2 separate regions of the Homo sapiens genome follow, and region 2 is linked to region 1. The links are contacts of gene promoters, found by promoter capture Hi-C in blood cells and fetal thymus (Javierre and others, 2016). All regions are on one chromosome and are shown on one strand. The core of a region is centred on a gene start or on the middle of the fragment in contact, and the rest is flanking DNA. Distances in the headings are between cores, read along the strand shown. Region 1 holds the start of TGM7 (transglutaminase 7). Region 2 overlaps STARD9 (StAR related lipid transfer domain containing 9).

Region 1 (3,262 bases), core at 195-2,694:
ATATGTTTGACAATAATTAGTAAACATGTAAATAGCTTTAAAGTTTTTCTGTCTGCAGCACTTATTCTTTGACCAAACTAAGTTCCTCCTCCAGGAGTGCTGAATGGACACTTCTCTCCTTAAACTTTGAATCTGGGAAACACATACACACATGTCTGGATCTCCTGCCATGATCTTCCTATTCTTTTTCTTTCTTTCTCTTTAAAAAAAAGTGTTTTTTTCTCCCTAATTAAAAACATCTTACACTCCCACTGTGGAATTTTTAAAAAATTCAGTAAAATATAAAAAAGAAAGCACATTCACAATCTCACTGCTCTTAGCCACAGTTTGTTATATTTTCTTCTATCTTTTAAAAATGGGTCTATCTGCATAAATAATATTTTTTACACTGTTAAACTACACTGTTTTTTAAAAAATTATTTTATTTTTAATTAACATGTAATAGTGTACATATTTATGAGGTACAGAGTGACATTCTGATGTATTTTGATACATGTATACAATGTATAATGATCAAATCAGGGTAATCAGAATATCCATCATCTCAAACATTGATCATTTCTTTGTGTTGGGAACACTCAAAAACCTCTCTTCCAGTTATTCGAAAATATGCAATAAATTCGTATTAAATATAGTCACGCTGCAGTGTTATAGAACACTAGAACCTAGTTTTCCTATCTAGCTGTAATTTTGTATCCCTTAACCAACCTCTATCCCTGCTCCCACCCACCCTTCCCAGCCTCTAAGCACCACGACTCTGCTCTCTGCTTCTCTGATCTCAACTTCTTCAGGTCCCACATATGAGTGAGAACAACTGCACTGTTTTCCTATTCTACTTTTTCCTTCCAGTTAATATCACATTATGGGCATTTTTCCTTGTCACTGGAAACTTTGTCAACTTCATTTTTAATCAGCAGCATTAATAATTCAGTATTTCAGTGTGCTTTATTTTTCTTCAAGATGCAAAGCTCCCTGGGTCCTGATGGGCTGTGCAAATCTTTCTTCATGACTCTTTCTATGACCTTCCTCATAGCTCTTTCTTACCCAACACCCATATGGTCAGGGGAAGCCAGACCGAACTGGCTTAGATCGAATCGGGTCCCAGGCCTTGAAGTGACAGAGGCACAAGGGAACAGCTTCAAGCCAAGCTTTGCCATTCACATCACTTGTGAGTCTTCTCAGCTCAAAAAGGAGGCCACAGAAACAAATCCCTCAGCACATTTTTACAAGGCTTAAGTCAGAAGCTCCCTTCCTTAAGCCAAGATGTACCTGGAACAACGGGAAATTTAAGAGGAGGAGTGGGAGGAGGAGGAAGTGGCAGCCCCGCCCGACTCAGGGATGGAAGGGAAGGTTCTAGTAGGGTGACTGTAAATGCTCAAGAGGCAATTAGGTCTCGAATCGTACTGGTGACTAGTTGAAGGGCCTTGACCGACAGGAGAAGGAGGGAGATGGATCAGGGTGAGTACTGGGAATCGACTTACCTTTTCGGAGGTGCTAAGTCAAGAGAGGGGAGAAGTTTGGAGAGGGTAGAGGATGTAGGGAAGCGACAGGAGAGCCTGGATTGATGATTGGTAGTTCATTGTGCAATACGGCTCCTTCTTCTTACTTCTCCATCTGCATTTGGACCTTGGGGCACAAATCCTACAGCCATTCGTTTTCTTTTCTGAAGCTGTGAACAGCCTTTTCTTTAAAACCTGGGGGGCTGAAATGGCCTTGGGAAGTCTGAGGAGCCCCAAAAAGAGCTTGGCCCCTGCCACCAGGTGTCCTTGGGTGCTTGGGAGGCTATTTCTATGGCCAACTCTGAAGCTGTGGGAGGACCCCTCTCAGACCCTAGACCTCTCCCTTGTCCAGCTTCTCCCCTGACTCTCAGGTCCTCACTGAGAGTTGCTGCCCCCACCCCTGAGTTCAGGCCCCTTTTTCGATCCCTTCAGAACCCTGCCACTCCTCTCCTGGGAGTGAGAAGAACAGGCCCCCGCAGGCTGGGCCAGCCTGGCCAACACATGCGGCCTGCCAGGGAGGGCACTAAACATGGGTCATGTATTTCTTTTCTTTTTCTTTTTTTTTTTTTTGAGATGGAGTCTCCCTTTGTAGCCCAGGCTGGAGTGCAATGGCGCGATCTCGGCTCACTGCATCCTCTGCCTCCTGAGTTCAAGGGATTCTCCTACCTCAGCCTCCTGAGTAGCTGGGATTACAGGTGCCTGCCACCATACACGGCTAATTTTTGTATTTTTAGTAGAGGTGGGGTTTCGCCATGTTGGCCAGGCTGGTCTTGAACTCCTGACCTCAGGTGACCCACCCACCTTGGCCTCCCAAAGTGCTGGGATTACAGGCATGAGCCACCACACGCGGCCATGTATGTCTTAAAATAATGTTCTAAAGCATGTATCATGTTCTAATGGCCAGGCACTGTGTCTCACACTGGGCGTGGTGGCACAGGCCTGTAATCCCAGCACTTTGGGAGGCCAAGGCAAGCGGGTCGCTTGAGCTGAGGAGTTCGAGACCAGCCTGTCCAACATAGTGAAATACTGTCTCTACTAAAAATACAAAAATTAGCCGGGTATGGTGGCACAAGTCTGTAGTTCCAGCTACTTGGAGGGCTGAGGCGGGAGGACTGCATGAGCCTGGGGGGGTCAAAGCTGCATTGAGCTGAGATTGCGCCACTGCACTCCGGCCTGGGAGAAAAAGTGAGATCCTGTCTCAAACAAACACAAAATAAAAATAGAGATATAAATGGTTTTTAAATGCAAGACAGAGTTTGACAGAGAAGGCTCAAGAAGCTTGTCACGTGCTAGATTCCAGGGTACTTTAGTGCTAGAGTTTAGCATATCTTTTCCCCTTGGCTATCACCAACTAGAATAAGTCTAAAACAGTTATATATATACACATATATTTTTGAGACGGAGTCTTGCTCTATTGCCCAGGCTGGATGGAGTGCAGTGGCGCAATCTCGGTTCACTGCAAGCTCCGCCTCCAGGGTTCACGCCATTCTCCTGCCTCAGCCTCCCGAGTAGCTGGGACTACAGGCGCCCGCTACCACGCCTGGCTAATTTTTTGTATTTTTAGTAGAGACAGGGTTTCACTACGTTGGCCAGGATGGTCTTGATCTCTTGACCTCGTGATCCACCCGCCTCAGCCTCCCAAAGTGCTGGGATTACAGGCGTGAGCCACCGCGCCCGGCCTTTCATTATGTTTTCATTTGAAGAAAGCACAATATTCACTTACTTGGAAAAAAAATTTGAAAATCTTCAGACCAGTACCACCA
Region 2 (3,452 bases), core at 207-2,706, 620 kb after region 1:
TGTTTGGTGTGTAGGGTCAGGCCTAGGTGGCAATGTGGTAGAGGGATCCCAACTTAGGAAAATGCTGTGAAGACAAGGAAAGCTATCTCAGAAGATGTGAGAGGTACTACTTCCTGTGGACAGAAGGAGGTTAAAAACAAGGCCAGTGTCACTGTCTCCTATAGACTTCAGACCCAGAGAAAAGCTCTCCAGGTATAAAAGGAAATTGTGGACTCTAGTCCTAGTTCTCCAAGAGGCTCCAGGCCCACTCTGTTCCTCAATTTCTTCATCTTGTTAAAAAACTGAACTGAAGCTAATCACACTTGTAGGGAAAGCTTCCTATTAATAGGCAATATGAGGAATAGAGGAACAATTTAAATGGTATTATGAGGAACCAAAAGATAAATCTATAGAGTGATACATATTCTACAGAACTATAATTATCAATAAAAAGAAATAAAAATAATGATTACAAATAAAACAAGAAGAATGATTAAAAGAAACCTGAGAAACAACAAACAAATGCAGTGTGTAAATCCTACTTGGATCTTGATTTGAAAAACCAACGGTTTCAATGCTGAACCATGTTAGAGAAAAAAGAGAGAGAAAAAAGAAAACTGTAAATAGTTTTGGGCAGCAGAGAAATTTGAATATGGCCTAGGTTTTAGAATACATCAAATAATCTTAATTTTGGTAGCTGTCACAATAACATTGTGGTTACAAGAAAAGTCCATTTTTTTTTAGAAGTATATACTTAGAAATGTAGAACTAAAGTGACATGGTGTCTAGAAATTGCTTTAAAAAACTTCAGAAAATGGGAAGGTAGGCAAGTGTGTAAAACCTAATAATTGCTGAATAATATCAGTGATACATGTACTATTCTTCCAACTTGGCATATGTTTAAAATTTTTTCATAATAAAGTTTTTTTAAAAAGCCCACCTGGTACTTTGAAGACCAGAGAGGTGAGCAAACACAACACTAACAGACGTTAATTGTGAACGTCCTATGGACAAGAACCTGTGCTAGGTCCTGAGGATACAAAGAGGTATAAGACACAAACCCTTGCTCCAAGGAGTCTGGGAGATAATACAGCCCTGCCTTGATGGCATGTAAGAAGTAATGGAGAAAAGAAACAAGGAAGGTCCCAACTTGAACCTGGGAGTCAAAAAGATAGCTCAGTCACCAGGTGGGAGGTGGGGTGAGAAAGCTCACTTGATGTGGCAGGTCGAGGAGGGAGAGGGAGGGAGGTGGTGTAGGAGTCAAGAAGTCTGGTTACAGGCATGACAAGATTGAGGTGTGACATACAAGGAAACGTATATGGATAGCCCAGGTCTAAGGAACAGACGAAAAGTGAGGCCGAGATCCTTACTCCTAAGATGTTACCAAAGAAGCAAGAATTGCTACTCAGGGGGTAAGGAAGATGGGAAAGGCCTGAATCTAAAACGATATACACAGAAAGAAGAGTAACCAGAAGATGGAAAAAGTCATGAGGAAGAGAGAAATATACACATTCTTCCATTTCACAGACTGAGGAAATGAGGCATGGGGAAAAACAGAAAACTACCTGGGCAAGAAGGTTGTAAACTTTAACCGAGTGCTTCCCAGTGACAACTACTGGCTGTACCTGTGTAGCTGGGGCATGTGCTTGCTGCAGAGTCTTTGGGGGCTCAAAGAACTGCAACTCGTCAATTTGCTTCTACATGGAGGCCGTGGGACTGTGGCATCAGGGCTGAGGACCTGGTATGGGGGCTCCTGGGTGCTGTCATCCTGGAGCCAGCACAATGTCGTGAGCTTCTCCAGTCTCTTCTGGGCCTCCAGCAGCCTCTGCTTTTTGATGATTCTCTCTAGCTGGAATGAGACCTTTTTCCGCCGGACATTCCGCTCTGCTGCCCGAAGAGTGTGTCTCCGCAGGAGCTGCAGGTGCACCACCCTTTTCTGACTTTGGACAAATGGGGATGGCTGAATCTCAGGATCTGTCTGAAGCCAAGCATCAAGTGCCACAGATGCCTCAAGTTCTTTCTCTGCTACCTGGTCTTCTTGCTGCTGCTGTTGCAAGCTGGCCAGCCAGGTCTCTTCTCTGAGCAGACACTGCTGGTCTGGGAACCAAAAACACCCAGAGAGAATTTCAGCATCTCCTTCCCTGCTTGTGGCTGCCTGGACTCAGATACCTCCAGCCATGGCTGGACCTGTGTGGAGTGAAAGAGCTGGCCAAGGTGATGTGGCAGGGTGAGGGCTGCAGGGCTACAGGGCTCCCTTACCACAAGGTAAGGGAATGAAGACCCTCAGGACTCAGCACAGCAGTGGGCACGTGCTAGGGCAGGCGGTAGGGTATGGATACATGACCAAATGAGGAGCAGTAAGTAGGAGGTCCGTAATTCTGAGGACAATAAGGAAATTAGCGTCCTTATTCTTGCTTCCAGCCCTCTTCTTATAAGAATCTCTGGTGTCTAAAAGAAAAGAGAACACCTAATACCAAAGATTCCATCATATCACAAAGAAAACAAAAGAGAGAATACAGAAGGCTGAGGAAGCATGAAAATGAAAGAATAAGGAGGTGAGGCAGACACATTAAGTGGTGGACACCTACTTTCTTTAATCTGCTGGCTAATCCAAGCTTGGTCAAATTCCAGTTCCTTCGCAGCTCGAATCTCTTCTGCTAGGATTTGATGCCTCAAATCCTCTACGTAGCTCTGCTGCTGCTGAATCTGGGCCCTGTGGGATGTCTCTCCATCCCTCGGTGTCTGATGGTCCTCGTCACATTGCTCTTCAAGCGCTCTCCTGTCACAGAAGCGGCTGAGGTTACCCAAGGGGAAATGCAAACCAAGCTCAGGACAAACTGATAGCAGTGTAAGGCCTTCCAAGAGAGCCCCTGCAATCAACAGGGTAGAGAGTGCTTTGGACTTCTGGCAACCTTGGACAAACAGGCCTGGTGTCACAGGCAGCTTACGATGTCACAGTGCAGGAGGGGAGAATGGTCATTAAACTGGCATAGTCTTAGAGTTGTGGGGTTAGCAGAAACACAAATCCATTTTAGTTAAGGAAAATCACCAGGAAAGTTGTTCTTTTTAAAAAGACACAAAAACATTTTAGCTAAATTCAGAAGTTTGGTCCTTTAAAAAGAACAAAAAGGTGTCTGCTAAAAATATGTTGGAAATACTCAGTAAAGCAGAAGCTCCAGAAACACTGTGGGCATAAAACTCTCTCCTACATATTCAGAGATTGTTACTGCACCTCCATTCCCTGAAACAGAAATCCTCTGTGATCTGGTAGCAAAAGGCAGCTGATAATTTATACACACACCACGCCTGTGTGTGTGTGACCCAAAGGAGAGCTGGTCTCCACTCCAGAGCTGTTTTCAGTGAATGAGCCCTGGAATAGGATTCAAGAGTTTTAGACTCTACCACACCTTTCAAAGATATATACTGAAGCATTTACTGGTGAAATATGTCAAGAATTTGTCTAGATCCAGTGA

The links. The method cuts DNA at HindIII sites, captures the fragments that hold promoters and counts their contacts. A CHiCAGO score of 5 or more calls a contact.
Region 2: a contact is called between a fragment that was not itself captured here and the fragment with the promoter of TGM7 in region 1, in 1 of 17 cell types (erythroblasts). The highest score is 6.1, in erythroblasts.

What each region holds. Positions count from the first base shown.
Region 1 is chr15:43,300,437-43,303,698 of GRCh38, reverse strand. It overlaps TGM7 (transglutaminase 7), which reads left to right and starts at 1,444. Exons shown (of 13, transcript NM_052955.3): 1 at 1,444-1,458. The coding sequence starts at 1,449. The HindIII fragment of the contact is 1,629 bases long and covers 1,151-2,779 here.
Region 2 is chr15:42,680,728-42,684,179 of GRCh38, reverse strand. It overlaps STARD9 (StAR related lipid transfer domain containing 9), which reads right to left. Exons shown (of 33, transcript NM_020759.3): 21 at 2,568-2,758; 22 at 1,605-2,076; 23 at 1-64. Among named protein-coding and RNA genes, the nearest start is that of CDAN1, 55 kb to the left of the region's middle. The HindIII fragment of the contact is 2,280 bases long and covers 317-2,596 here.